5 separate regions of the Homo sapiens genome follow, and regions 2, 3, 4 and 5 are each linked to region 1. Evidence: promoter capture Hi-C in 16 types of primary human blood cells and fetal thymus (Javierre and others, 2016). All regions are on one chromosome and are shown on one strand. The core of a region is centred on a gene start or on the middle of the fragment in contact, and the rest is flanking DNA. Distances in the headings are between cores, read along the strand shown.

Evidence for each region. The method cuts DNA at HindIII sites, captures the fragments that hold promoters and counts their contacts. A CHiCAGO score of 5 or more calls a contact.
Region 2: a fragment that was not itself captured here is called in contact with the fragment with the promoter of HMCN1 in region 1 in 1 of 17 cell types (neutrophils); the score reaches 5.1 in neutrophils.
Region 3: a fragment that was not itself captured here is called in contact with the fragment with the promoter of HMCN1 in region 1 in 2 of 17 cell types (M1 macrophages and M2 macrophages); the score reaches 7.6 in M1 macrophages.
Region 4: a fragment that was not itself captured here is called in contact with the fragment with the promoter of HMCN1 in region 1 in 2 of 17 cell types (M1 macrophages and megakaryocytes); the score reaches 5.5 in M1 macrophages.
Region 5: a fragment that was not itself captured here is called in contact with the fragment with the promoter of HMCN1 in region 1 in 1 of 17 cell types (M1 macrophages); the score reaches 5.6 in M1 macrophages.

Annotation. Positions count from the first base shown.
Region 1 is chr1:185,732,029-185,738,289 of GRCh38, reverse strand. It overlaps HMCN1 (hemicentin 1), which reads right to left and starts at 3,899. Exons shown (of 107, transcript NM_031935.3): 1 at 3,243-3,899. The coding sequence starts at 3,510. The HindIII fragment of the contact is 13,332 bases long and covers 1-6,261 here.
Region 2 is chr1:185,238,524-185,244,784 of GRCh38, reverse strand. The region is part of intron 16 of SWT1 (SWT1 RNA endoribonuclease homolog); the gene reads right to left. Among named protein-coding and RNA genes, the nearest start is that of IVNS1ABP, 76 kb to the left of the region's middle. The HindIII fragment of the contact is 6,721 bases long and covers 1-6,249 here.
Region 3 is chr1:186,192,402-186,198,662 of GRCh38, reverse strand. No RefSeq gene overlaps it. Among named protein-coding and RNA genes, the nearest start is that of PRG4, 100 kb to the left of the region's middle. The HindIII fragment of the contact is 6,841 bases long and covers 1-5,961 here.
Region 4 is chr1:186,175,203-186,181,463 of GRCh38, reverse strand. HMCN1 (hemicentin 1) reads right to left here. Exons shown (of 107, transcript NM_031935.3): 104 at 2,698-3,048. Among named protein-coding and RNA genes, the nearest start is that of PRG4, 120 kb to the left of the region's middle. The HindIII fragment of the contact is 261 bases long and covers 3,509-3,769 here.
Region 5 is chr1:186,131,178-186,137,438 of GRCh38, reverse strand. It overlaps HMCN1 (hemicentin 1), which reads right to left. Exons shown (of 107, transcript NM_031935.3): 86 at 5,030-5,111; 87 at 502-771. Among named protein-coding and RNA genes, the nearest start is that of PRG4, 160 kb to the left of the region's middle. The HindIII fragment of the contact is 996 bases long and covers 2,091-3,086 here.

The DNA of each region.
Region 1 (6,261 bases), core at 2,650-5,149:
AGGGTGCAGGATTTGTTTTTGAGGTAATGAAGATGTTCTACAATGGACTGTGGCAACATTTGCACCTATCTGTGAATATACTGAAAAGCATCAAATTGTACACTTTAAGTGGATGAATTGTATGGTAAGGGGATTACATCTCAATAAAACCATTAAAAATAAATACATTAAGTGTGATTGTGAAAGTGGAAAATCCATCTTAACCACCGTTAACATCAAAATCAAAAGGTTGGCTCGCCTTTCCATGACCCCCGTTCATCTCTGGTACCTCCTCCTACTCTAGACACATGTGCTGCTAGTTCAACACAGCGCTTCTTACATGCACATATTCTGAATGGTCTTATCTCATTTTCAACTTGTTAGACACCCTGCCTCCACTACCTATGTGTTCCATGTGTTTTAAATTTACTCCATCTGCAAATACACACCTTGCCCCAAACTGTAATGCAGGGCTCCAAAGCAATCATCTGCAAATATCTAAAGGTTTATATCAAAAGACATAGAATATATCCCAGAATTCATCCATTATTTCATCTAGCTAAATGCGATAGATGTCAAAGGGCTTATAAACATTCAAGATTATTAATATAATCATATTAAATTCTATACATTATTTCTTTCCATGTTGGTTGTGTCACCCAACCATAGGAATATGTGTTAGGCACTATGAAAACAACCATATGTAAAAGAGTCATTAACTGTCACATTAGAAGAGACCTTAAGAGATATTCACATAGAATTCTCTCAATTTATATAGTTGAGGATACTAAGATTCAGAAAGTAAATATAGTTTTCTAATGTCACTCACTAAGACAGCCAATTCCCATTTAAGGTCCTTCCTGTCATTCCAAGATGCTCCTGCCTGTAATCCCAGCACTTTGGGAGGCCAAGGCAGCACAATCACTTGAGGCCAGGAGTTCAAGACTAGCCCGGGCAACATAGTGGAACCCCTGTCTCTATGAAAAAAATAATTAGTCAGATGTGGCATGTGCCTGTTGTCCCAGCTACTCGGGAGGCTGAAGTGAGAGGACTGCTTGAGCCTAGGAGGTTGAGTCTGCAGTGAGCCATGATAGTGCTACTGCACTCCAGCCTGGGTGCCAGAGTGAGACCCTGTTTCAAAAAAAAAAAAATAAACAACAACAAAAAAACTACAAAGAGGCCAAAAACTCTTAATGATTATACACACACACCTACAGAGGAAAAATATCACACAAATAAAGTACTACAATCTAGTAAAGTGAATACTAAAGTTAACAGTATGTTTAAACTTCAATTTCTCTCTTTATTTTCAAAAATATTTTAAATAGCTTTAGATAACATGAATATTTGGCCACTTCTACTTTGAATCACAATGTAAACAGAATTAATAATTCTGTTGAATTATACACACAATTAAGTTTATGAAACCAATTTAAATTAGTTAACCATTTTCTCATATTACTGGATTCAGAAAAGCTCTAACTTATTCAGTCATCTGTTATTAGCATGTCAAGTTTCCCCAACTTTAAATCATGATTGCTAAACTACAGGAAAGTCAACTACAGCAAAGAGCAAACTCTCCCATTTGGTAACAATTGAAAGGCAGGGCACCACAATACAATTCATTCCAATAAGTTTTCATATCACTTCAAAATATCAGGATAGTCCGGTATCCATGTATAACTTGAGGCAATTTTTGTATTCTGTTTACAGCAATATAATTTCATAAGAGTTCTTTGGTGAAAAGCAAATCGTGGTGTTAGAGAAAAAACAAAATTTCACTTCATTTTTTAGCTAACTTCAGACTCATCCATCTAGAAGAAACATACTCAAGGTATTCCGAAATAACAAAAACCTCAAACTGCATCACAGTTGGCATCTTGACATTTAATACATTGAAAATCACAACATATGAAGTGTCTAAGACAGTAAACACAGTAAATAATCATTCAATTCTTTATTCAAATATAAATAATATTCATGTTTAACCAATGTAGAAATTACAAATATATGTAATTACATATATGTAATGTATGTATGTGTATGTGTGTGTATATATATATTACATATCCCAGAAGAGTAGTACAGATTGTTTTCATCATGTGAAGAGCATGAAAATCCGAGAGTTCTATATATCTTTAAATTTCTCCCAGTGCCATTGTTTAATAGTTAAAACCTGCCATATTTAATACCTACCAATAATTTGAACTTATATACTTTTGCTAAATGCACAGGAAGGAATTTCAGATTGCCGATATCACACTCTCGTTGTGAAGAGGTTGTGTCAAGTTCTTCTAGTGAAGGGAGAATTTCAAAAGCAGGAAAAGTGTGGGAGAACAGTGGGGGAGGACTGTTAAGAAATCACTGCTTCATTTCTTCAACTGGGCAGCAACTTGTGCTAATGAAACTCAGGTGGACATTAGACTGCCAGCCCCAGGGTTTCCCTTGCAAGGCTACCCTCAGCTATGGCAATGGGGGCTCCTATAAGCCTCACAGAGAGGTGCTACTTTAAAGAGAAACTGAAAAAAGTAAATAGGATCATATTACAGTGGAGCTGCTGAAACCTACGGCTTTAGGGCAAAAATGAAGTTATTTCACTTCAACTACCTTTAAAAAGCACAGACATTCCGAATTACAAGCAATTCTACCGCAGGAGACATGGATGTAATGTTTATACCCATCTGTGAACCTATCTAATGATGCCCTGGTGCAAAGATGAATAGATTCAGTTAAGAAATGATTGGTTTCTCTCTTTTCTTTTCATGTCTTCAGTTCCACTAGTAGTTACTACTTACAGGCTTCCTTGTGTCTCACACAACAGGTTTTTTCCCCTCTTAAATGAGAGTTACCCTCAGAGTGTGCTTTCAATCTGGATGTTAGCCCCTAGAGCTTCGCTGCTATAAATTCGTGTCCAAGTCTGCCTTCGTAATTAAACATGCTTTAGTTCTAAAATCTAAGTGAGTTAAGTGATTTTGATGTCGTTGCCCAAGATTTTTGGTTTTGTTTTTCGTAACTCCACATTTCCAGGTTTGAGGACCACAGTACAAGTTCCCTAAACAAGCCATCTCCACCAGGGCTGAGACTTAAGTAGGTATCAATGAGCAAACCCAGACGCCAGCAAGTAATTCTTTGTTACAACTATTTTCAGCTGCACATTTTTTTAAAATGGTTTTGAAACTTCCTGACAAACAATTTCATTCACAGCATGAGAAATAATGTAATCATGAGACATAGCAAAGACAAAGTATAAATATTTCCCTTACCTGGATCATGGAAAGGCACCAACGCAAAGTTGAAAAGAGGTCTTTTAGGTCTTTTCAAAGACGTCTCCAAAATTTTGGAAGCCCCTTCAATCACCTGAACTAAATCATCATACATAGAACCAGTCACATCAAACACAAAAGCCAACGTGGAGGCCCCCTCGGGAATTTCCTCAGCTCTGATCTCTGACTGGGGGCTCGCATCTTGAGCTAGGGAAGAATAAAGAAGAGCAAACAGGAATACTGTATGGACAACTTCCCAGGAAATCATTTTCTTTTTTTTCCCCCTCTTTTTCCCCCTCAGCGCCTAAGCACTGTGCTCAGTCCTCCTCAACAACAGGCAGAGGGTTTCCTCTCAGAGTAACTCATCAGACTCTTGGAATCTCTGAACTAGCAAAAAGTTTGGCGCTGAGAATCAGACGGGGACAAGCACCAAACTCGAATCCCTCCAGGGGTTGGGCAGGGCAGGGATGCGGCAGCTTTTGTCTGGATGCGGCTTCCTCCTGGACTGCTATCTGCCCGCGGGCCCTGGACAGCCTGTGGCGGAGTGCGGGCGGCGCGTCGGGTCCATGCCCCGGGGGCAGCTCTGAGCCTGCGGCGCCGCGGCCCGAATCCCGCTGCCCTCGCCGCCGCCGCTGCTCTCCGCCTGGGCCAGCGACTGAGGTTCCCAACTTTCCACTGTTTGCAGCTCACGAGCGACGAGGGGAAGCCTGGCTCGGCCTCGCCTCCTGATTGGCCAGTTGCCGTCCTCCCTCCTTTGCTCTGGAGGCCCCCCCGGAGGGTGACTTTTCCCTCCACTGATTGTAGGGTCAATTCAGTCCCAGGGAAGCGCTTACGGTGTCAGCTCGGTTCCCACCGGCACCGTTCCTAACCTGCAAAACGCTAGTGTAAACAATGGCTTTCAAGAATGTGTGGCAAAGACCCAAACCGAGGGACACCACACTAGCACAAAGGGAATTTTGTTTTTCTATTGTGTACAACGCGGCTTTAGACACCTCTTTCCTAATTCCCCCCAAAAGTCAAGACGCCCCAGCCCAGCCTCCTGCCTCTCAGCCCACAACTCGGCCCAGCCAGGAGGGGGAGCTGGAAAATTCTCTCAGCTGCGAGGCAGCCACACTATCGCTCTTTGATCTCCTCTGAGACTCTGGACTGCAGGGAAGGAAGGGAGGACAACGCTGAAGGGGCAAGAAGCCCAGGAAGAGGAAAGGGGCTGCTGAGGGAAATGAGAGACAAGAACTAGGTAGTCACTAACTGTAGAGGGGAATGTGAATACAGGATGGAAGCCCCGTAGAAAGGACAAGGAGGAGGGGCGAGAGAGGTGTGGGGAAAGATGAGACATAAAATTCATATTAAAGAGAAAATTGATTTTTTAATTGTATTATCAAGATTCACATTTGCTGAGCAGTTTGAATCCTACGCTCAGCATAGTAAGGCAGAATAATATCCCCGTTTCAGATTTCCTCCCCTGGAACAGTCATGCCTCAGGTCTCAGCCAAAGATCTATTGGAAAGGTGCTCCCCTCTATGGCATTTTCTTGCCAGTCAAGAAGGAAACCTCACCCTGGAAGACATGCCAACGTTTTTCCGTGTTGTGATTGCTATATACGTTATAGTACTAATAACAGAGATAAGAGGATAAGCAAAGAAAGTCTACCATGAACTAAGGATTCTTTATGTCATTTTAATAAAAACGCATTTCCTTCCTGGAAAAGGAGTTGTTGTCCAGATCCCAGCATTTAAAGAGGGGCAAACAGGCATCTTGATCTCTGTTTGGATGTATATTAGACCGCCCACCCAACGGAGATGCAGCCTGAGGAAGAGTTAGCTCCCACCAACCTTTTGTAATCTACAACTGTCTTCTCTTTCAGTCCCAGCGGCTGTGGAACCCGAGTTTATGATACCTATAAGTCATGTCACTTAAAGGAAGCAGACAGGCCATTTGGGCTGAGTGGGAATATGAGAGGAAAGGGGGAAGGTACTTCCTTCTCAAGCAGTATTTAGAGAATGCTATTTGAGTCTCCCATTCCGTTGTTTATTTAAAAAGGATTTCATTCTAAGTCTTAGAGACCTGAGCTATTCCAGGTGCTCAAGGGAGGCCACAGAGCCTAGTGATTAAGAGTTCTGGGTCAGATACCCTGGGTTGAAAGCCCAGCTGTGACATTTAACTGTGTGACCTTCAAGAAGGTTACCAAACTTTTTCAGACCTGTGTTTACTCAGCTGTAAATGGGAATAATGATAGCACCCACCTAATAAGGATTAAATGATCTATAAATGTTCCATGTGCACTTGAAAAGAATGCTGTTGGGTGGAATGTTCTATAAATGTTAATTAGGTCAAGTTGTTTAATAATGTTCCAATCTTCTATATCCTTACTGATTTCTGCCTATTTGTTCTATCAGTTTTTGAGAGTGGTATTGAAATATCTGACGACAATTGTGGATTTGTGTATTTCTTCTTGCAGTTCTATGAGTTTTAGCTTCATGTATTTGAAGCTCTGTGGTTAGTTACATAAGCACATAGGATTATTATGTCCTTTTGACATAATGGACATGAATTGACGCCTTTATCATTATGAAGTTGCCTTCATTGTCCCTGGTAGTATTATTTGTTCCAAAATATACTTTGTCTGATATTAACACTGCAACTTTCTTTTGATTAGTGTTGCATGGTGTATCATTTTCTATCCTTTCACCTTTAACTTATTTTTTTCTTTATATTTAAAGTATATTTTAGGTAGTCACCCTAAAATTGGGTCTTGCTTTTTCATCCAGGCTAATAATCTCTGCCTTTTCATTTGTGCTCTTAGATGTTTTACACTCAATGTGATTATGGATATGGTTGAGTTTAAATCTGCCACCATGCTATGTGTTTTCTATTTCTTCCATCTATTCTTTGTTCCTTTTTTTTTTTTTTGCCTTCTTTTTGAATATTTTATGATTCCATTTTATTTCCATTGCTAGCTTATTAGCTAAAACTCTTTTAGTGGTTGCTTTACAGTTTATAGTATACATCTTTAATTTAC
Region 2 (6,261 bases), core at 1,640-4,139, 490 kb after region 1:
AAGCTAAGTGTTACTGGAAAAGAGTCAAAAAGTATTAAAAAATCAAAAGTTCATAAAATTAAAAAGTTATAACAACCTAAGGTTAATTTGTTATTGAAGAAAGAAAACATTTTTTAATTGAGTGGAGCCTAAGTGTACAGTGCTTATAGTCTATAGTAGTGTCATATCCAGGGCCTTCACATTCACTCACCACTCACCCACTGACTCACCACCCACCCACTGACTCACCCAGAGCACTTCCACTCCTGCAAGCTACATTGTGGTAAGTGTTCTATACAAGTATACCTTTTTTTTATCTTTTATACCGTATTTTTAAGCATGCCTTTTCTATGTTTACGTATGTTTAGGTACACAAATAATTACCATTGTGTTACAACTCCCTGTAGTATGTACAGTAGCATGCCATACAGGTTTGTAATCCAGCAGCAACAGGCCATTTACCATACAGCCTAGGTGTGTAGTGGGCTATTCCATCTAGATTTGTGTAAATACACTCTATAATGCTCACACAAGAACATGTATCCCCATCATTAAGATATGTATGACTAGCTGGGTGTGGTAGCTCACATCTGTAATCCCAGCACTTTAGGAGGCTGAGGCGAGAGGACAGCTTGAGAATAGGGGTTCAAGACCAGCCTGGCCAACACAGTGAGACCCTATCCCTATTTTTTTTTTAAGAAAAAGAATTATATATATTAAAAAAGAGAGAGAGATGTATGAGTGTATTTCCCTTTCTCTAGAATATAGGCAGCATGGGTAAATGGATGAAAGTCCATGAAAGAAGGCTGATCGATACATTCTATACTATTTTACACTCCAATAGCATACAAAACTGCTGACATTTTTATCAATAAGGTTTAAATAAAATCTGCGTAAAGTCACTATCTTTAATAATAAACATAATTTTGATTATTTTACTTATTTGTCTTATTTCAACAATTTGGCTGGAGAAAATATATAGCTACATGCTGTCAAAAATAATACATTAACTACATATATTTAAATAGTAATAAAGTAGCTTAATATTAGCAAAAAAATCAGACAATTTAAACTTAATAGTTCCAGTTACCTTATTGTTAAGAGAAAGTGTATATGTTGATTCTAAAAAGGTTTAACATGCCTTGTTAACAGGGATTGGCGCATCAAAATGTTTAATAATTCCAGAGGTTTCTGATATACGGTTAAGTATTTACTGAGTACCATCTATGTGGAAAACACTGTCCTGAGTTAAAATCAAACTTTTCTTACTATTGGAAAACACCCTTGAGGACATTGTATCACTTCTCACTACTGGCAGCTGGTTGGCCTACTGAGGTGCTAAAAGTTATTTAGAGGCACAAGAATATATTTCTCAAAATAGATAAAATTAATCCTAGGCCAGATGTGGTGGCTCACACCTGTAATCCCAGCAATTTGGGAAGCTGAAGAAGATGCATTGCTTGAGTCCAGGAGATCAAGACCAGCCTGGGCAACATGAAGAAACCCTGTCCCTACAAAAAGTACAAAAAATAGGCTGTGTGTGGTGGCACATGCCTGTAGTCCCAAGTACTCCAGAGGCTGAGGTGAGAGGATCACCTGAGCCCAGGAGGTGGAAGTTGCAGTGAGCTGAGATCACAGCACTGCACTCCAGCCTGGGCATCCGAGTGAAACCCTGTTTCAAAACAAACAAAAACCCAACTAGTTAGAATGTATCCTAGAGTATAGGGTATACTCTACCTTTACGCCTTTTATATAACTGCTTTGTAAGAATGAATTAGAACTGATCATCTGGCTTTATCCCATATACTTACTATACATACTTGTTATTTAAGTTAAAATTATTATGATAGCCCTTATTCAGACCCTTCTATTGATTTCTCCCTAATTTCATTTCTTTTACTGGTGTTTAACATCACTGACTTATTAGGTCATTTATTCCATCTGGTGGTTTTAGCATTTCTTAAAACGAGACTTAATAGCAAGGAATTTTAATTAAATATCAGAACAATAAATCATTAGGTAGAATTAGTCAGGTATAAAACAAGAAGTAAATTTTAAATAAAAGAACAGATTATAAATAAAAACTCCATAAACAAGTTAAAATATTTGTTGTCTTCAAGAAGTAATCTTCATATTATATTTAATTGCTTAATTTGGATGTGATTTGATAATTTATGATGGGATACATTTAACTCTGTCATCCAAAACTGAATTATACTGGCCAAGGGAACACTAACACCTAAGTCCACTCTAGGGGCGATGGGAATAACTGCGGCATTTCTCCGCTGATATAAGTATCAGCGGAGGTTACCTTAAAAGGTAAATATAAGGTCTTTATTTCCAATTCTTGAATGACAAATGCTGGGAAACACAGATAAGAGTTTTAGATATGTAAAATGAAATCCAGTTATTCTAAAAATTAAGTCATAGTGATGTATTATCTTCAGTAACATACAGACCCAGGTTTAAAAAAATCAGCTGGTTACTGAAAAATTCAGTCCGACTGATACGTGAATGCCACGTATTTTATCAGCTACTTTAATAAAAATTTTATTACATATTACATTTAAAATTTGATATACACATTAACTGTGCTTGTCAAACTGCAATATAGATACCATAAAAGCTCTTAATAACTGTCTATATTTTACACATATGACCTTATATGTGTCTATAATATAACAAGAACTGCCTGCTTATATTCCCTGAGTCTAACTCTTCCATTAGATCCTATCTTTCCTTCTACTAGCCCTATTTTACATAGTTGATCTAGAGAGTAATCCATAAGTAATAATCTATAGTTGATAAAGTAATCAAGGATAACAATGTAACCCGAAGAGACATTTGGGTGAATTACTGGAGGCTCCATCATCTGCTCCAGACATAAATGCCTTTTTAATCTCCTTAATCTCTCTCTCTTCCAGTCTTTCTCCTTCCTCCTGATTTTCTTATTCTTTAACCTTTCATAGCTTGCTCATCTCTCTTCTATACCTCTTTTAAAACCTCTACATTAACTATTCATCTAATGTCATAATGTAGTATAATTAGCATTCAGCCTTAAAAAAAGTTGCCTTCTATCACAAAGACTATAAAACACTCATTAAATAATCACTTACTGACCATCTACTATGTGTCATTACCTGTGCAAGGCTCCAGATACAGAAAAGTAAGACAGTTTCTGCCCTGGAGGCATTCAAAGTATTAAGGAACTGATTATAAAATAAATTATAAAAAATAAAATTATTTTTTACAAAATGGTGGCATGAAGGATGAAGCAACTAAGTCTTTTCATTTTTAAACAATAAATTGTATTATTTTTTCTTACTCAACAAAGCAACTGATATACTTGGTGATGAAAGGACAAGGTGTTGAAAGTCTGAGAAGGTAACTAAGTGATATCTGAGGAGCTGTGAAACCCTAACTGAAGAGTGGGAGGTGAAGCCTAATTATCTAAGGGTGAAAAGGCCAAGCCTCAAAGAAAGTAGGTCAGACACAAACATGAATAAACCCCTCCACTCTAGATAACAATGGCTGAATATTTTGCACACTGCAATGAGTTCAGAGTCTAAAAAGTCACTTCTAAACTTCAAAGGATGAAGTTTTTAAGGTCTTTATTTTCTACACATTAGCATGCCTGTGACAGAATCTTTAGTTTCAACAACTAGTTTAAAGAAGTAGCCTAAAGTGTGTTATCTTTGTGTAAAGTAAAGGATGACCTATTCTAAATAACCTTTTCCAAAATCTTAAGAGGTCAACTATCAATATATACAGTAAGTCAAAGAGGCGAAGTTAATAAAATTTTATCTCAAAAGCAAAAATCAGTATCTTTGAAGCATATTAGTGGATCTGAAAAGCTACTGTGATTTTAAGGTTTCTTTTCCCAGAAATAATGCATAAATATACCATATATGGTCTGTTCTTACGTTAAAATGGGGTAGGAGATTAAAAGGAAAATTAATTTTTAGAGGTTTAATAAGAAAACAAAATATATGCAAATCACACCCAAAAAACCCCAAACTTCATGACTGCAATTATTTTAGAAAAATAGCTGTCTAAAGTATTCCAAACTAAAGCCACAAGAATGTGACAGAGGTTATTAAAACTTAGAAGATTAAACAACTCAATAAAAATTAATCATCTTCCTTTCCTAAATTGAAACTGAGGTTTTATTTTCCAAAATCCTGTTCTATGATCAAGTACAAATGCCCATGCAGCATATGATTATGTCCAAACACAACGGTTAGCAGTCATTTATTGCTAAATTTAAATATGACCAAACAAAATGACAGCTAGAAAAAAAACTAAGCTATATACACTTGAGATATCTTTTAATATAAAAGCATGTCCTCAAAATGCACCTATTTATAAGGAATAGAAATTCCCTCTGCCTCTTTCCCACCCCAAATATGAGTCAAAATAATAAACCAAGAAAACACTCATTATCTCAAACATTTCAAATAAAGCTACTTCAGTTCATGAAACTCACATATGCAAAGTTTTACATGTTAAACCAAACATATTTGGGCATGAGCTAGTATATTTTTGGATTTAAAATATTACCTTTTTTTGTTTTTTAAAACATAATTTCTACCTTATTTTATAAAGGTGAAATACAAACATAAAACCTAAGCAAGTTAAAGTTTCTCACCTTCACCCTCCTTCTTAGCTTCTAAATCAGGCAGCTAGCTCATCATCTATTTCACAGAAACAGAAACATATCTACAACACTTGTATTGTTGCTTTGAATATTAGCTTTCAAGTTGAAGCTGCACGCATTTACAGTGTGCCTCAGAGTTGGATTACATGACCTGTTTAGTTAACTCTGCAAAGATGACAGTTTAAGCAAAAATACATGTAGACAATGTTTTTGATCAATATAGAAAGTAGAACTTTCCCTATTTTTAGAAATTTGCAATTCAACTCTCCAATTAATTTTGTTCCAAATGAAACTTTATCATCTTTATATACTAAGCAAAAGGTTTCTGTGGTCTTAAGAGTTACTTGATCAATCTAGACATAAGTTTACAAAAGTATAAATTAAGACTATGTAGTACTGACCAAAAACAAATCTTAAAACACTTTTGTCTATCTGAAAAAAAAATTATCAACATTGTCCTTGGCTATCTAGTGGTTAGATGAGAAAACTATTAACAAAAGTGCTCAAATTAATCCTGTATACATATAAAAGAAAAGATGAGGAGAGAAGCAATTTCTAAATGAATAGCAAATAAGCTAATTGAAGTTCTTCTCCTACCTAAAAAGAAAGTGTTCAGAAAATATAGGAATTTGCAAGATCCTCATCCCTTTTCTAACTTTGCAAAATTAGGTATTTTGCTGCCAAATATATAACCATACCGACAACTGCTCCACTAATTTTTCAATCTTAACCACAATCATGTTTAGAGTTTTCTTAAAACTGAAATACACATTTTAAACATTTCAAACTTCACATATCAACTTTAAGGAAAAAGCAAGATTAGCGCATGTAAACATAGTTAGAAAGTATTTTCACATACATCATTTCATACACTCTTCTAAAGAAGGTACCAGGATTCTCATTTAACAAGGAAAGAAACTGTGACTTAGAGGGTAAATGACATGCCCAAAGTCAGCTACAAGGGGATAAATCTAGAACTAGAACCCAAAGCTGTTAGTCTATCAAATATGTTTTCATTCACTTCTTTAACTGAAAGGCCAAGCTAAAGATCACCTGATTATCGAGCCCCAATATAACACTATATATGATCTACTATTTTTAAGATAAAAGGGAATAGAGCTAACATATAATCACTGAGCATGCATCTCAAAACCAAATGAAACTAGGTCATTTTAGCAAGCATCAAAAATGCTAATTTGCAGTCACTACAAATTGCATGCAATTTCAATATTTAATTTTAAATTTAAATTAAATTGTAAAATTTTAAAACAATATTTAGCAAAAAAATTTTTAAACTGAGCTTCTTTTGATTTAACATGATTTTGTTTCTTGAAAGATTTTAAGCACTACATGTACACTTGAAAAAATAATTATTAACTTTTATTAAATTTTAATTTAAATGCCTATTATCTGCCCGGTTTAAAAAAAAAAATTCACAATTTTGTAGTTTCCTGTTGATAAGTGAATGGTGAGTTAAGCAAACCAGTTTATTCACAATGCTCCCTACTGGTAGCTCAAGAGAAAAGCATTCTCTAATGTAACATTACAAAAAATTGCATTAGTTTTATTAAATGTGATCTCTCACCACCTGCATACAAATCCCCTGGAAAGCTTAAAAATACAAC
Region 3 (6,261 bases), core at 1,292-3,791, 460 kb before region 1:
TGTCAGTAAATATTCAAGTTATCTGATCTTTATTATTCTCTTAGCAACATTTGCCGATTTTAGTACAGATGCCTTGTGAAGTCTTTTTCTGACTCTTCTTACCTGTGGTTTCACAACTTAATTCTTCTTCTCAAACCCCCAATTTCAAATTGCTACCTTTGTTTTGACCTCTATTTCACAGAAAAGATAGAGACCATCTAGTGTGAACTAATATGAACTCCCTTAACTTCTTGTCTTCATAGTGACAGATATATTTATTTGTAGCACAATTGTCATTCCATACATCCTTACTTGAGTTTGGCAGTGTCTCTCCTCTCTCAAATCCTGCAAATCTTTAGTTCTGCATCAACTTATCTATGTTTTTGTTTTCTTGTGTGTTTTCATGCAGGCCATTGGGTACTGATTGAATACTGAGAGTCACATGAATGCATTGGAGCCAGAAATGTTTGATTTTTCAATGTCAGCTGGACCTCTGTCTCTGCTAAGTCATCCTTTAGATGTTTCTAATTCGCTCCATCTTCTATTTTCCATAGGAGCTATCACAAAAATTTACCCCATCCTAAACTCTCAAACCCTCAGCATATGGCTTTATTTTGCACACAATCTTGACAACCAACCTCCACTTCACCTATACTTATGTTCTTTCTGCCATTTACTCCTGTGATGGACTGAATTGTGTCCTCCCAAAATTCATCTGTCGAAGCCCTACTTCCAAAGTGAGGTTATTTGGGGATAGGGCCTTTAAGGAGGTAATAAAGGTTAAATGCAGTCATAAGGGTGTGGTCCTATGTGAGTAAGACTGGTGTCCCTGTAGAAGAGGAAGAGACATCAGAGATGTGGGGGCACAGAGAGGCCATAGGAAGACAGTGAGAAGGCGGCCATTGTAAGCCAAGGAGCAAGATCTCAGGAAAAACCAAACCTGCCAACACCTTGATCTAGGACTTCCAGCCTCCAGAACTGTGAGTAAATAAATGTTGTTGTCTAAGCCACCCAGTCTGTGGTATTTTGTTATGGCAGCCCTAGAAGACTAAGTCAACTCCTCTTGTTCATCTATTATCCCCCTTTCTATGCTTTAGAGTAAAATCTTTTCATGTCTTTTAGAATATTGCTCTACTCTCTCTTTCCTTTATCTTTAATCACCCTATAGCCTTTGGCTCTTTCTTATATTAAAAACAAAACAGATAGACCCAGTGTTTCCTCTGTCATCAAACATCTCCCCCATTCTTTCACAGTTTGGGAAGAAGGAACCCCTTCCCCCTCTTTCTGGTACCCATTTCCAGTTCTTGCAGCACCTTGTAGCAGATTCCTAGTTGTCTTTTCTTCTTCATAGAACAGAGCATGGAGTTCAACCAAAAAACTATCTTTCTCTGCTTTTCTTCTATCTATTAAGTTCTTGCTCATGAAATATAAATAACAATATTGTGTGGGAATTTCTGAGAAATTTTCTTAAAGGAAAGGGTGTGTCTTACGTCCTTTTGTCCTCCTTACTCTCTGAAATGTGGACTCTTTTCTGCTTCTCTCAGGTGGACTTAGGACTCTGTTCCCTATCTTTCCATTGTACTTTGTACTGACTTCTATTGTAATTACTATAATAATTTATAATTGTTTATTTTTACATATGAATTCTCACTGGGCTATAAATATCTTTAAATGTTTGGATTTCTCATGTTTATCAGTGAGCCCAGCACATAGTAGACATTCAGTCTATACTTTTTGAATAAATAAATGGATGAATGATTGAACCTATGGATTGCTTTGATCATTGTATTAGTCCGTTCTCAAGCTGCTATGAAGAAATACCTGAGATTGGGTAATTTATAAAGGAAAGAAGTTTAATAAACTCTCAGTTCCGCATTGTTGGGTAGGCCTCAAGAGACTTACAATCATGGTGGAAGGCACCTCTTCACAGGGTGGCAAGAGACAGAATGAAAGCCGAGCAAAGGGGGAAGCCCCTTACAAAACCATGAGATCTTGTGAGAACGAATTCTCTATCGTGAGAACAGCATGGGGGAACCACACCCATGATTCAATTATTTCCACCTGGTCCTGCCCTTGACATGTAGGAATTACTAAAATTCAAGGTGAGATATGGGTGGGAACACAGAGCCAAACCATATCAATCATGATAAAGTTTGGGTTTCTTTTTATCTTAATCCATTGATTAGTCAGTCATCCTTGCACTTAGTGTGTGGGGTAAATATTAGTTAGAATGCTCCATGCTAAGAGCAGTGCAGGATAATGGATGAACTGGATTCAAGGCTCTTGCTGTCTAGTAGACAAGAAAATGCATGTGCCAAGCAACCATAATACAAAGCAGAAGGTAAGAAGTGCCAAATGAGAGGTACGGAGATAGACTGACTTAAGAGATGGAAGAGAGACCTTTTGTTTAAAAGATTAGGGAAGACTCTATGGAAGATGTGGCATTAAATAGGGCTTTGAAGATGGCGAGAAATGAGTATGTGGAATTGGAAAGGAGAACATTCTAACATGTAAAAATAGAAGAAAACCTGGATTATGGAAAATGTGTGGTATCATTACATGGAAAACAGGGTACATACAACAGAATTATTATGACATAAATACTGAAAAGGTAAGCTGGGGTCCAGTTATGGGGAAATCTGGGATTACCCTGGATAAGGGGAGCCACTGCAGGTGATTGTTTGTGAGGGCTACAGTGACTCAGGTCTTGAGACCTTCCAGATAAATAACCAACTGATTGTCAGTCTTTCTCTGTGATTTCAGTTGACTTAATCATGACTGTAAAACCTCAACCTCCTGCATAGAGAAGGTGGAGTGCTAAAAACTTTTTTTGACATCACATCTCATTCCTTCAGATTCATCAGAGGAATTCAGAAACTGTTAACAAAATGTTAGACCAAACCCCTAGAGTATGCATAGCTGAACTCCAACAGTTGGTTCTGAAGGATAAGTAATATCTGCAACCACACTAATCTTCAGAGCTGATGTCCCAGTGTATTGGGAGACCTGAGGACTTGAAGGCACTTTGACGAAGCACCAAGCTGAGCAGTATGGTCACCTTCATACTTCAGTGGTAACGGTTGGAAGTAAGCAGATGTTTCTGAACAGATTAAGAGGAGTTTCCTTATTCAGAGTATTGGCAAGTGTTAGGTTTTGTAGTCAGATGGACTTGGGTCCAAATCTTAACTCTGCATCTCCTACTAGTGATGACTCTGCAGCTAGTTATCTAATCTCTGAGCTTCAGCTTCCCTCTCTGTGAAATACTGGCTTATAATCTTTAGTTCGTGGTGTTGTGCCATGCAATGTTTTTCAAATTACCTTTGGTAATTTTTTTTAAGTTCCAATCTGTTTTTTTTTTAAGTTGTAGTCTATTATAGATGGTTACTTTCATAGAATATAATACAAATAACTAGAAAAGTAAAATGAAAAAGATATATAAAATATATGCTTTGTTTCTTTTTTGTTATTGGATTCCACAGACATGAGTCTGGCTGTAGGTCTAGGAGCAATAAGGGGTAATGGGGACAGTTCCAGAGAGGATCATCTGTCTTTTGCAACAGACCTCAAGAGAGGCCATTACAGGTTATTTAGGCAAGGAAGACTAAATTCAGAGAAGAGGGAAAGCTGTTGGCAAGGAAAACATATCAAATTTGGAGTTCAAGGTTTCCAGCTTCATCAGAATCTTCTCATATGTCTCCATCCCAAATTTTAGGGCCATACTTCTTTTTCAATCCATGTCCTAACTTTATCATAAGAGGCATCATGGGGCTGGGAATTTAACTCGCATCGTAATTCAGCCACTCTCAGGATTAGTTTGTGTGTGTGTGTGTGTGTGTGTGTGTGTGTGTGTGTATGTGTGTGTTTGGAAACCTTAGCCCTGCAGTTATAAGAGATAAAGATTTCTTTTGGGTCACCATTCTACTTCATTTCCCTTTTGTGTTGGGAATAAAGCCCTGAGCTCATTATTTTCTTTCTTCAGTGCACTTAGAAGCAAGCAGGCAACCCTATTGTGCTCTCCATTTTCACTAAAATAATCCATGAGAGGAACTGAAACCCACAAACATGGATAGAACCCATGATGGACTAGAACCTGTGCTGGTCTCTGTATGAGTCAGCTCAGCTGCCATCACAAAGTACAAGTGACTGCGCAGCTTATGCAGCAGAAATGTATTTTCTTACAGGTCTGGAGGCTGGGAAGCCCAAGTCAAGGTCTGGCAGGGTTTGGTTTCTGGTGAGCACTCTTTCTGGCTTGCAGGTGGCTGCCTTTTCACTGTGTCATCACATGAGAGAGAGAGATCTCTGGTGTCTCTTCTTATAAGGGCACTAATCCTACCCACCCTTATGACCTCATTTAACCTTAGTTACTCCTTAGGCCTTATCTCCAAATGCAGTCACATTGAGGGTTAGGTCTTCTACGTATACATCTGGGGGAGACAATTCTGTCCATAGCAATCTTTCACCATCTTTAATTTTCCAACTTCAATGATGTAGGTCTCATGCAGGAAAAGCTGGGGTTCTTTGTTACAGGTGTAGACACACATCTAGCTCAGGGATTGTAGAAGATGAAGGATCCAGTGGGAAGTAGAATGGCTGTGGGGCCACCATTGTCCTGATCCACCGAGAGGAGCTAGCAGATAATGATGGGGTCCATGACTTGCAACAGTACCTGGTACCCCTGCAGTGACTTTCCAAGTGTAAAAGCAATGTGGCTGCAGCTTCACTTATACTTTTCAAATCTCATGCTACATGTCTCATGTGGCCTATGCTCTGAAACTTTCAGAGACAGGAAATGTAGTTCCAGCTTACCTAAGCTGACATAGTAGGGAGAAACTAGATCATCTAACACATTTAGGTTATAAAAGGAAAGAAGAATGGAGAGTTATTGATGGAGTGATGTGATCTGATAGGTGTTTTTAAAAGACCAGTCTTGTAGAAAATGGAGTACAGCAGAGCAGGAGTGGCGGAGGAACTTGGGTAGGAGTGCATCATGTGACAATGGTATGCCTAGGATGGTAGCAGGGGAGACGGAGACTTCTATTTTGATGGACTGAATGTGTACATTTTAGGTGGTGAGAAGTTAGTGAATCCCAGGGCTTCAGTTGGGGTGATTAGATGAATGGTAGTACAATTAATATAGTTAGGAAAGACTAGGGTAGGAAAAGGTTTGGAGGATCATTCGGTAGGCATTCAGGTATTCAGCTGTAAATAGAGACAGTCCAACAAATAATTGTTTAAGTAAGGAGATTTTAGACTCAAACGATTACAAGTCCTGGGGTAGTTATTCCAGTGCTGCAGAGTGGTTCAACAAAGTCATATAAAAGGTTTCAGCACCCCCTCCCCCATCCTCTCCCCTCCCCCTCCTTTCTCCTTCCCTTCTCCCTCCCCTCTACCTCCCCTCCCTCCCTCCCTTCCTCCTTCCCTTCTCCCTCCCCTCCTCCTCCCCTCCCTCCCTCCCTCCCTTCCTCCCTTCTCATCCTCAGGGTGGTTGCCCCATTGTTGCAAGATGCTTGGCAAATCTCTGTCCACATTCTGAGTATGGAAAGATTGAAAAACACAGGCCAAACTGGTATGCCACAAAGACTACCCCTTTTAAAGCGATTTCTGCTTACATCTTATTGGACAGAATGGAGTCACATGCCCACTGCAACTAGACAGCTGCTAGAGAGCAGGAGATATGTGGTTGGGGTTTGGATCAACCATATGCTGGATGTGTAAGTCTGAGTGAGTTAGTTAAGGAGCCAAGTGAAAATGTCAGGTAACCAGCCGGACAAATGGGTCTGTATTTTAGGAGTGTCAATCTTTGGCCTACCTGACTCACTCAGATGAACTGAAATGTGAAATGGTAAGTTCTGGTAAATGTGCTGTTATCCTACCCTGCAAAGCATGCTCCTGTGTGCATGTGTGCATTTATGAAGGGAGAGTGGGGCTTGGATATGACTGCCAGCCTAACAGCTAAGTCTGCAGCTGGGTTAATGTAAAGCTTGAGAACAGGTTTTAGAGATGTGGAAGGCTTGCACGTGCTGAGGCCAGCAGCCTACTACAAAACTGGTCAGAGCCTTGACTATCATGTGTGCTCTGAGCTCAGATTGGGCTGTTGTGAATGATAAAAAGATTTATACCCAGTTTGTAGATCAGAGGTAAACTATGACCTGCAGGCTAAATCCAGCCAGATTTTGTAAATAAAGTGTTACTGGAGCACATGTTTATGTGCCATCCACGGCTGCTCTCATGCTAAACAGCAGACTTGAGTAGTAGCCACAGAGACCACATGGCTTAAAGGGC
Region 4 (6,261 bases), core at 2,390-4,889, 440 kb before region 1:
CAGTAATATGTGGGAAAGTAGTCTATAAAGGGCTATCTGCTATTATTAAACAAAGCCATGAAAATGGCAAAAAAAGGAGGGTGAGAATAGATGATAATTCAAAATTAATTGATATTTGCTTTAAGGATAAAGTATGTGATTTGGGAGGCTGAAGATTTCTTGTCCCAGTGGTGTTTTGCTTTAACTAAAATTAAAATTTGCTCATAGTCTCTGAGCATACACCAACCAGTGGAAGACTAGTTAACCAAAGTGTTGATTCTATGACTTGTGTGAGTTTTTACTTCTTTCCTTTAAAATCAGCTTTAACCTAAAATAACAGAAATGTAAATGATGTTGAACTCCAAGTTGTTAGCACAGAGCTTTCCCAAGCATGAATTTTACACTACCCCCAAGTGTGATTTCTGCATTCAGAAGCAATGCAATGGTCATTTTTCCTGTTATGCTTTAGAATCAATTTCTTCAAAAACTAAACTTTAGCCCAAGCCTAACAAGATTTCATAGTGTTAATTTGAATCTTTTATAACTTGTCTGTCCCAGATAGTTCATTAAAAGCATTTGGTGCTTATTGCAAGTTGGTCTTGTTGTGTAATACCAAAGCTGTAGGCAGTCTTACTGTATATTTCTTCATTAGTCCCAATACTATAAAATACCATATTTTAAGAAATGTTTAAGCCTATGAATTGCCTCCAAAGAAACTTAAATATCCAGTAATGGACTAGCTATAAATTTTTACTTTAGATTCTCCAAGATTGACCCTTACTGTGAAAGAGTGGCTGCCTCAAATAGCAGATGACTGTCTGAGGAAGACGATTGTGATAACATAACATTGGTTTAACATAAACGGAAGACAGAAAACATTTATAAGACTCTACTATGATGAAACTGCAGCCATAGATAGTGATGAAGAAGTAGAGAAGTGGGTTATTAATCAGGAAGCTTTCTTAAAATAACTTGGACCTTCTGATAATTTGGAAGAAACCAGCTAATGGTGTATAGTGTGGAGGGTGTGGCTAAATTTATTTTTCATAACACAGATTTTTGGGCAGGAAAGTAAAGGTAGAACAAAAGAAAGTGCTTGTCTAAAATGAAGGTTGAGAATGGGATGGTAACCTATTACCTAGGCTGTGAAAACCCTCTAGTGGGGATGACTATTTGGAAGAAACTTTGAAAGACAAAATATCAGATGTTAATTCTGTCAATAAGAGAATAGTGAACAACTTTAATGAAGAGTCAGATCAAAATTGTGGGCATAAAATTTCCCAAAACTCAGAACAGTTTGTAGCAGATTGACAGTGTTGTTTAATATACTAGCAAGAATACTGGAGTCCACATATTTAGCAATTAAACAGTATTTGACCACGTGGGACAAAATGTAGAGAATTGTTAATGCATTAATGTTTGGTGGTAGAAGAAATGAGCACTGTCAACAATTCTGGTAAGCTAATCACGAGGGAGAAGTTTCCACATCCCTTATATTAAGCTGCAGATACATCAGGGTAAAAAAGACAGAAAAGTGCTGGAAAAAATATGAACCTAAAAAGCAAAGGGTAAAGTTTGAGTGTCCAGAGGGACTGAGGGCCCAACTGAGTGGAGATGATATGGGAAGATGAATCCACCTAAGGTTGACCAAGAAGTCCATCTGAGAAGATAATAATGAAGTAACAGGGCTTGGGCAAGGGTAGAAAAAGAAACAAAAAAAATTGAAGATAGAAGGAGAAGAAATGTTTAAAAAATGTTTAGCAAAAAGCATAGTTAAGAGAGTAAGCAAAGTGTAGAACGCTTTCCAGAAATGTAAGAAAATGAGGCTGGCATAGTGGGCTTTGAATTTAAACGGAATTTGTTTCTTCCCTCCCTCTTTACTTCTCTCCTATGTTCTTTCTTTGCTTATTTTTTCCAGCTAACAAATAGTAAAACTAATTCCTGCTTGCTAATTCCCCTTGAGTAGGTCAATGACATGCTAATTGTAGATGTTCACAGAAAATTGAGTTAAATGAGTGACAGATGGTAATGTTTGCAACTCGACTGAAAACAAGGTCTCAATTCTTAAGTGGGAAATTATACTTCACTTTTGCAAACAAATGGAATTATAGACTTGTGAATTTAGATAAAGATACTGCAAGCACATATTTCAGAGTGATAGAAACAACTTAATTTTGTCCCAACTCATATTATCTTTTCAGTGACGTACAAACATACACAATAATCAAACAGCAATTCCACGAGGACTGTGGAGCAACAGTCAATGGGATGTTGGTTGTTATACAGAACAAGCAGTCGACCGAGAAGCTGAAACTTTCACTTTTAAACCACTGCTTTTCCATCAATCCGATGTGGCCATAATCTGATGGCATTACGTTATGTGGCAATATTTACATCCTCTTTTAAATAAACTACATTCTGGATGCCACTGAAATTTATTTCTATTTAGTATTAAGTTTAGTAACACCTTCAGGGTGACCAAAAAGAAACTGACTATAACACAATAAATTATTAGAATGCCCACATGTAAATCCATAATTCACTTGACTCAAGTCTGTAATAGTTTTAGGTGCCAAAATAAATGTCTTGAAATTTTGAGTCATTCCGAACTTGAGATCAGATGTAGTTCACTGCACTCAAACAATCACAGGTGCTGTACACATACTTTGATCAGTAAGAGAGCCCACAGAAAGGAAATGTAATATGGCTGACATTTACCTACACATGTGTCATGGCTTGCCTCAGAGCCTTCAGGGCAAGTTTTCCTAATAGTCCTTCTAGTCCTGGAGAGAGATGTTCTGCTGTTTCTATACTCTGAGTAGGAGCTGTAGAGATGTGAGTACTGTCTGTAATGCTGTTGAGGTTGATAGTTGTTTCTCACAGGGGAGAACCGTGCAAGGTTATAGCTACTGTATTGAGTGCCATAATTTGGCAGCCTCTCCAATCCAGCGCAAGATTTCCCGTCCCCTAATAAATGTTGTCCTGGTGGACAGATACACTTGAAGCTGCCGGGGGTGTTGGAGCACTGATGTGCACAAGGTTTAGGCACTTGTTCACATTCATTAATGTCTGCTCGTATGCCATGATATAAAAAAGAAAAAAAAAGACACATACATACACACACAAAACACAGGAATAAAGAATGAGTCTGTGAAACAAACTGAAGACATTGTTACCCTCCAAAGCCAGGCATACAGTAATTTCTCCTCAACTGTTGTGAACTTTTGACAAAGCTTTAATCATTCAGTTATGAACATAGGACAGATTCTGCAAATCTCCCCCTAAATACTATATTATATCCACACATTTTATTTGAACATTCACATTGAAGCAAGTGGCTCAGACAACAAGACACACTAGTTCTGTAAGTTCATACCCCTTTGACTCACTTATGATGGCCTTAAGACCTAGGGAGCTCTGTTTTCAGCCTTGTCTCCTTGATCAGTTTAAGCTACTTTGGTATACATTTTTACACGTAATTCTAAGAGTAACATTAAGATTTTAAATCTTAGAAATACTACACTAAGCTTTCTTAGTTCAACTAGGCAGAGACATCTTAAATTGTTAAAATTTGTGTATCTTCCTCTGGAAAAAAAAAAGGTACAAGAGAGTGTGGAATCACAAATGAATATAATTTTCATCAAACTTCACTTATAAAAAAGTCTCAAGATAGTACCTCTTAATACAATCATACGTGTACATTTGGGAAATTTCTCTCTTGTTTTTTCTCTTTTGACAAATATTTCAGATGGAATTCAGATTTTTCTACTGGTTGACAATGTTGGAAGCTTTCTAATATGTCCACATATAATTTTAAAAAAGTAACTACTTTTATGTTTATTTTAAAATTTTTATTTAAATGACTTGGTCTTTCTGCAAGCATCTTTGCCCTCCTAATTCTCCACATAGCAGCCAGAGTGATCTTTTCCAAATGTAAACCATATCATATTGCTTGTCTGCCCAAGACCTTTCATGTTTTCCCATCACATTCTTTATTATGGGCTCTTCATCCTCCTTACCCTCTGCCTACCTTTGCTCCAACAGCCTGACCCCTTGGTTCTTCCTTGATTATGGTCAGTGCATTCTTTTCTGAATGACATTGCCCTGGCTTCTCCTCAGCCTGAAATACACTCGCTCAGACCTTCCCATCGTGGCTGCTCTCTCTTTTTTTTTTTTTTTTTGAGATGGAGTTGCTCTGTTGCCCAGGCTGGAGTGCAGTGGCATGATCTCGGCCCACTGCAACCCCTGCCTCCTGGGTTCAAGGGATTCTCCTGTCTCAGCCTCCCAAGTAGCTGGAACTACAGGTGTGTGCCACCACGCCCAGCTAATCTTTTTTGTATTTTTGACAGAGACAGGGTTTCACTGTGTTAGCCAGGATGGTCTTGATCTCCTGACCTCGTGATCCACCCGCCTCGACCTCCCAAAGTGCTGGGATTACAGGTGTGTCCCACCACGCCCAGCTAATCTTTTTTGTATTTTTGACAGAGACAGGGTTTCACTGTGTTAGCCAGGATGGTCTTGATCTCCTGACCTCGTGATCCACCCGCCTCGACCTCCCAAAGTGCTGGGATTACAGGCGTGAGCCACCACACCTGGCCTGCTCTTTCCTTTTGTCCAGTCTCTCAGAGAGGCTGCCTGGATCACAGTGCTACCACCCCAATCTGGGTCTCTCTTTTATGTTTTATGTTTCCTTTCCTTTTATGTTTTATGTTTTATGTTTCCTTATGTTTCTCTGTTTTATGTTTCCTTAAAGTGCTTATCACTATCTGAAATTGTATATTTGTTTTGTGATTCTTCTTTCTCTCCCTGGAAGGTAAACTCCACGAGGACAGAGACCTGGTCTGCCCTGTTTAGCAATGTATTCCCACAACCTAGAACATCATCCAACACAAAGTAGGTGCTCAATAAACATTTGTTGAATTAATGAAGGAATGGGTTTGATATCATGTGCCAAATCAAGCTGTGAACAGTAGAAACAAAAAAGATCATATGGGAATACGTAGTCTTAAATACACGAAAACCAGAGTTCAAAAGCTAATGTAGATCTTAATTCTATCAGCAGAAGCAGAAATGAAATCACATCTCTAGTTTGTATTTAGTTATAATATTGGTAACTAGTGTCTCTAATCTTCCATACCATTATAAGTTTTAGAGGTAGGAATACTGGCAAAACTACAGACTTTAAAATTTTATTTTCTGAATTAATAATTTTGAATTAATGAACAAGCCAAGCACATTTTCCCCCAACAGATTAAAATCAAGGAAACAAGGACATAGAATCAGTTCTTACTAAGATATAAACTCACCAAACACATAAAATTTTAAAAAGTTATTTTCTTTCTATTGTTAGGTCAACACATGGAATCTGTACTTGCAATTCTTCCTATAAATTGGAAAAGGGAATGAAAACCAAATTCTTTAATTCATTACCACAGTGGCATGAAAGAAAACAATACAGGAAGGTAGAATAAAATAGTAAATTTTGCTTTAAAAACTATTTTAGTAGGTAAAAATTAATACTTTAACTCCTTTCTCTTTTTTTGAGACAGTTTCTTTAACTCTTTTCTTTCTTTCTTTTCTTTTCTTTTCTTTCTTTTTTTTTTTTTTTGAGACATAGTTTCACTCTTATTGTCCAGGCTGGAGTGCAGTGATGCAATCTCGGCTCACTGCAACCTCCACATCAAGAGATTGTCTTGTCTCAGCCTGCCGAGTAGCTGGGATTACAGGCGTGAAGCACAGTGCCCAGCCATTTTAACTCTTTTATTGAGGCAATGGTTCTGCATTCTTCCTTGTTTTACTCCCTAGCACAATGTCTGAGATCCAGCTGGTGGCCAAATTGGTGAATAAATACAACTATTTCATTCTGAAAAGTCACGGTTATGGCTGATCAAGATGTTAAACTATATATAAATGATAATATCTAAATAGAAGACTAAAATGATGATCTGTATTCCTGTTATTAAAAAGCATTTTCTTTTAAAAGAGTTTCTAGTAATGGTATTAGTTTGAACATTTGGTACATACAAAATATTATGCTAGGGATTGCATAAAGACAGAGCTAAGTCTTTTTGGGAGAATTTGCTATAAATAATCATTAAGTGGACAAGAAGGCAACCAATTTGAAAAGCATAGCGTGAAACCCAGAAGCTAGTATTTAAAAGCCCACAACATTATTTTAGTGCAATTGAATATTCTAAGGAAGACTACAATTTGATAGATCAGTTTCTTGATTATAAATGCATTAATTTTTACCAAAAGTATGTGGTTATCTTACAGATATTT
Region 5 (6,261 bases), core at 1,339-3,838, 400 kb before region 1:
TTTCATTTAAGATATGCACGGGTTACAGAGCTAAATATATAGTTGCTGAGAAATAGCGTATGGAAGCTCTCCTTTAAGGAAAATTAAAATCCAAGAGAGAGAGAAGAACTTCAGTTAGCCAAAGTTTCTTCTCAGATCGAATCCTCACTCACTTGCACATGGCTGCTGGAAGAGTTAGAGACCAACAAGTTTACAAACTGTTCACCTTTTGGACATAAGTCATTCTTTGCAGCAAAACATATACATTGATTTCTAAGAATAGATTTAGTTGTGAATCAAAAATCTAGTTTGGGATTTTAAATTAAAACCTTGGCATTTTAAAGCTCTAATCTGTGTTGGTTTAGGCCCTTCAATCTGTAAATTTTGATGATTTTGTCCTCTCCCCATCATCTAAAAGTATGTTAAGGTGACAGGAGACTTGGACTAAAGTGCTTAATAATTTCCATGATTTGAGTCACCCCAGGTACTGTTTACTATGAATATTCCTCTGATCACACTCACCCTGGACTATGACTGGCACTCTGACAAGGACAGAACCCATTAAGTTTCGAGCAACACATTCAAATTCAGAGGTATCTTCTTTCTGAGCATCAGCAATATATAATGAGTTGTTGGACAACACGTTAACCCGGTCATCCCAGGAAATAGAGTGCCCTTGACGGGACCATGTAATGGTTGGTTGAGGCTCTCCAGTTGCCTGACAATTCAATATGATTTTGCCACCAGCATTAATAACAGTTTCCACTGGCTCAAGAGTGATAATAGGAGGACCTACGGAAAAAAGCACATAGTGTCTCAGTTTTTGTGGAGTTACAGCATTTTTTTTTATCATGTATTATATGGCGACATTATTTTGAAAAAAGTGATTGATTTGTTTATAAAACACTGTTGCTTCCCAACTAAGATTATAGATTATAATTGCCATTAATACAATTTTCATAATTCTTTTTTATTTAGTAAATGTCAAAAATTTAAAATTCCTGAGATTAGCCTAGAGCATGGGCTCTAGAGTCATGTTTCCTGGATTCAAATTCTGTGTCTGCTCCTTACTACCTCTCTGAGCCCCATGTCCTTAAAAATGGTGCCTACTTCAGAGGATTCCTGTTAGACTCAACAAGAGGATGTGACTACAACTTTTGAACAAGGTAAGCACACAGTGCTCTTAGTTACTATTATTTTTGTCTGTGTTTTATATGGTGAATATTCACTTTTTTCTTTTGATCATTTTTGAGGTAAAGAGTCATTAACTCATTCTTTTTTTTTGAGCCAGAGTCTCCCTTTGTCACCCAGGCTGGAGTGCAATGGCACAATCTCGGCTCACTGCAACATCTCCCTCCAGGGTTCAAGCAATTCTCCGGCCTCAGCCTCCTGAGTAGCTGGGATTACAGGCACCCGCCACCACGCCTGGCTAATTAACTCATTCTTTTACCACTGGCCATCATTTATTCAATAAACATGTACTGAAAGCCTGCTATTTGCCAGGCATTGTGGTGGATGCTGAGAGCATATAGAGAAAAGATATTCTTTCTAGTCTCAAGGAGCTCACAGTCCACTGATAAGACAGACTTGTGCTATAGCATACCTATGGAACTAACGTGTACTAATATGGGAGCATAAACCATAGAAATAATAGATCAAACAAAAGCATGCCACTGGAAATGGAGGGGAAAAGGAAGACATATCCAAGAATTATTAAGAAAGTAGAAATGATAGAACTTTGTTACGGATTGGTATGGGTTAAAGGGAAGAACTCATGACTGCAGGGTTTTGATTTGGACAATATGGTATATTTGGGCAATGCAATAGCACACAACAGGAAGAACAGATTTGTGGATAGGGAGTAAGGAATGATAATTTGCATCCATTTAGAACTGCTGAACTTGAGGTATCTCTAAGACATTCATATAGCGATGTCTACATGACAGGGATATTCATATCTAGAGCTCAGAATAAAGATGAGCAAGAAATATATATGTGTGAGTCTTTCATAGTGAATAAGATTGCTTCAGAAGAGAGTCTAAAATGAGAAGACGGCCAAAGACAGAAACCATTGCAACAGCATTATTTAAGAGATGGACAGAAGACAAGCTTATAAAGATACTCAGAACGAATCACTGAGGTAGGAAGAAAATCAGGATAAAAATGGTATTCTGGTAACCAAAAAGGAAGGAGGGAGATATTAACAGTGTCTATAGTGAATGACAATGGCTGAAGTAAAGTCCTTGGAAAGATTGTAAAAGGAACTGCATGCAACTGCTGGCAGAATGTTTACGTCTATATTGGTCTACAGTGCCAAGACAGATGACAGAATATGACAGACTTCATTGGGAAAAAGAGAGTTGAACTGGATTTTCAAAAATAAGTAAGGTTATTTGAACAGAGAGGAGAGGGGAGAACACTTGGAGAGAAAGACACAACATGGAGATGGAGTTAGCTCTTTTTCTTTTTCAAGACAATGAACAGAATAGAAAGGAAGGTTCACCCTGAAGAGTAACAGCATACAGGGTTGTGAACATTGGTTCAAATCCTAAAATAAGAAAGGTTTTCATTTAAATAAGAAAGCAAACGGGGCAGCATATACATTCTTGAGAAGGAGCATGATGGGATGAGAGCAGTGTTTTAGTGACATTGAACTGAAAGGCAGAATGATTTGTTCAGTGAGAGGTAATAGATAATTCAAGGTTGTGGCTGCATATTTTAGACTGAGAAGTGTATCTAGAATAAATAGAATACAAATAAGACAAAAATAGAACAAAAATGTGTTTTGTTGTGATATTAATATGTTAGTTTTTTTCTGCAAAGGTATCCGTGACATGTTGTCTTTTAAAAAAGTAATTCCTTCATGTGAGGTTTGACTCTCTTAGCAAATGTCATATAAAGCATTACTCTGACTTATGCTCATCACCCTACACAATGCCTTCTAACTGATGTTTATATTAACCTCACTCTAGAAACTTTCAGGGCCAGTGCTTTTATTTCTCTCCTAGTTTCCTGATTACATTATGTATTCAATAAACTGTTGCTGCATAAAGTAAATACCTCAGGTTTATCCCTCAACACTAAGTGACAACATGACTAAATAAGCTTGTCTGCTCGTATTAAAATGGCTAAATTATCAAATAAACTCAGAACCTTAATTTAGATACCATCCTTGAACATTCCCAATTGCATATGAAGCTATAAATTAATACAATAAAATTCCATATGTACATACTTCAATTGAATTAATTTCATCATTCACATAATAAATATGAACACTTTAAATAAAAATATCGCTTCTGGTACTTTAATCCTAATTTGAACCAAATTATATTTTTGACTATTTAATATGCCTCACTTACTAAAATGAATTTATTGTCAATATGTGCAGATGAGCTGCTCTAATGTAGCTTTTTTTAAACTGGGTCAGTGGATTGTGTAGTGTTCTACCTACGTTCACTCAACATTTATTTGGAAAATGTGGCATATTATATTCTCTCCTTGTTGAGCCATAATTCACACCAACATATTAACATTTCTGGAAAATCTGCAGTAAAGAAATTTGGTATGCCTAAGGAGGGCTGAGCACATAGTAACTGTTCTTTATATATTTAATAAATAAAAGAACTCTGTTTAATTCATTTTTTCTCAGGTTTGTTTGAACATAGAACCCTATTTTTTCCTAATGACATCCCATGTTATCATTTGATAGATATGTTCTTTAGTGAAACATTGTATTAGATACTTATTAAATGTCTATCCATCTATTCGAGTCTTACAGAATTATATAGTTTGGCAAACAGCTAACTAATCTAGAGCATCTCTCAATAGTGATGAAGAAAATGTAAATTCACCCTGTTAAATACTGAGCCTAGTCACAAAATGACTTGACTTGCTTAAATTCTCAACCCAGTGACATTGTCTTTGGGTCAGCCCCTTAAGTGGTTCTGTAAACTCTCCAGTGGGCCATTGGATTATTTTATGTTTATCCAATTATGGATGCTCTGTTTTCCGATGACTCTTACTGAAGGGCTTCCTGATGAGCATGAGAATCTCACCCAGAACGTTTAGTTATTTCATGAAAGATGACAGCCATCAAGCTGGAGCACTTTTGAGCTCCTTTACATTAGTCTTTATTTTTAATAAATATCTTAAAGTGCCATAAATGGCAATCTTTTTAAGCATGTTGGAATAACTGTGGTGAATTGTAAGAAGGGGCACTCCATTGAATATGCTGTAATTAAAAAGCTCTGCCACCTTTATAGCAGCATGATTTATAATCTTTTGGGTATATACCCAGTAATGGGATTGCTGGGTTAAATGGTATTTCTAGTTCTAGATCCCCAGGAGTCACCACACTGACTTCCACAATGGTTGAACTAGTATTCAAAACTTGGAACCAACCCAAATGTCCAACAATGATAGACTGGATTAAGAAAACGTGGCACATATACACCATGGAATACTATGCAGCTATAAAAAACGATGAGTTCATGTCCTTTGTAGGGACATGGATGAAGCTGGAAACCATCATTCTCAGCAAACTATCGCAAGGAGGAAAACCCAAACACCGCATGTTCTCACTCATAGGTGGGAACTGAACAATGAGAACATGGACACAGGAAGGGGAACATCACACACCAGGGCCTGTTGTGGGGGGTGGGGGGAGGTATAGCATTTGGAGATATACCTAATGTTAAATGACGAGTTAATGGGTGCAGCACACCAACATGGCACATGTATACATATGTAACTAACCTGCACGTTGTGCACATGTACCCTAAAACTTAAAGTATAATAAAAAAAAAAGCTCTGCCACCAATCAATTGCAATCTTATACTATATACGTTAGATAAAATAGAGAAAAATATCTGTGTGTTATCAGATTTATGTTTGATGACAACTGCTCCATCAGCAGCAGAAAACTAAATTAGACACACTCTGAGAGCTACCACTAATGAACTTGCTATAGAGTTAAAGAAAATAAATACTCTTTATTAGGTAATATTTCCTAAATCAAGTGTTTAATTAGTTTCATTAAGCAGCTTACTTTGCAGAGTCAGACTCATGCTGCGCTCCACCACCCCAGCTTCATTGGTAGCTACACATGTATAGTCACCGGCATCTTCATTCTATGGAAATAAGCAGCGTTTTTACAAAAATATGAGCCTACAGAGCAGGGCAATCACTTTTTTCACCATGATGCTAGTTTATTTGAAATTTCATTTTTGAGAAGGAATTTTAATGGAAATAAGAAAACCTACATATGTCTAACCTCTTAAATAGATTTAAAGGAGGGAGGAGGAGGAAGAGAAAGAGGAGGGGGAAGGGAGAAAACAAATTCCAAGCCTAAACTTTCTCAAAATAGCCTATCATTGATCTCCAGGAATACTAACTGGTAAGAAACCAAAGCAAAAATTACATTATTTTATGATCATCTATCTGGAATTATCTTACTAAAGAAAAATACTAATGCTATACTTATAGATATCTTAAAAAGCATTAAAATAATCAGGACAAATTAACAAATACTGAGTCCTTTCTAATGGGGATTATTAAAACTACATTCAGCTGGACCTTTGTCTAGAGCGTTTGAAATTTAGGAGAGAAAGTGAAAAACTAATTTACTTATAATAATAAATCACAGATTGTAGGTCACATTATATACATATATGTATGTGTCTGTGTGTGTAAATTTATGTAGGACTGCACTAAATAAATTTCAATTTGGTGACTAGAGGCACAGATTTCGCTGAAGGTCTTGTGAATGGAAGAATTCAGGTCTCCTTAACAAACAGTAAGTCAATAAAAGGGAACTGATTTGCAGGTAGTAGATTGGGAGAAGGAAAAATAAATGTTGGTTTAGATGTTTAATTTGAGGTTTCAGTGTATTATCCAAATGGAAGTTCCTAGTCAACAGCTGGAAATGGAAGAGTTTCAGCATTGGAGATACTACAGTTTTAGGAATTTTAAATTGCATGATGAAAAAAATTAGTATTAACATTGGTATTAGAAGTACCAAGGACTTCAGAAATAGTAATAGAGGAAAAGGGAAAAGTGGTAATGAAGAAGGCTGAGCCATATTAGTATTATGGCACATAAAGTAGAAATAATTTCATAACAGAAGGAACAATCAACAAATGACATCTAATGTTGAAGTAAAATCAATGAGACTAAAAGACTAAGACTGGTCCACTGGATTGGGTAATTAGATAGTATATTTTAATTATTTCAATTACTTAAACAATGACAGCACATAAGTGGTCTCACCAAATGTGATTT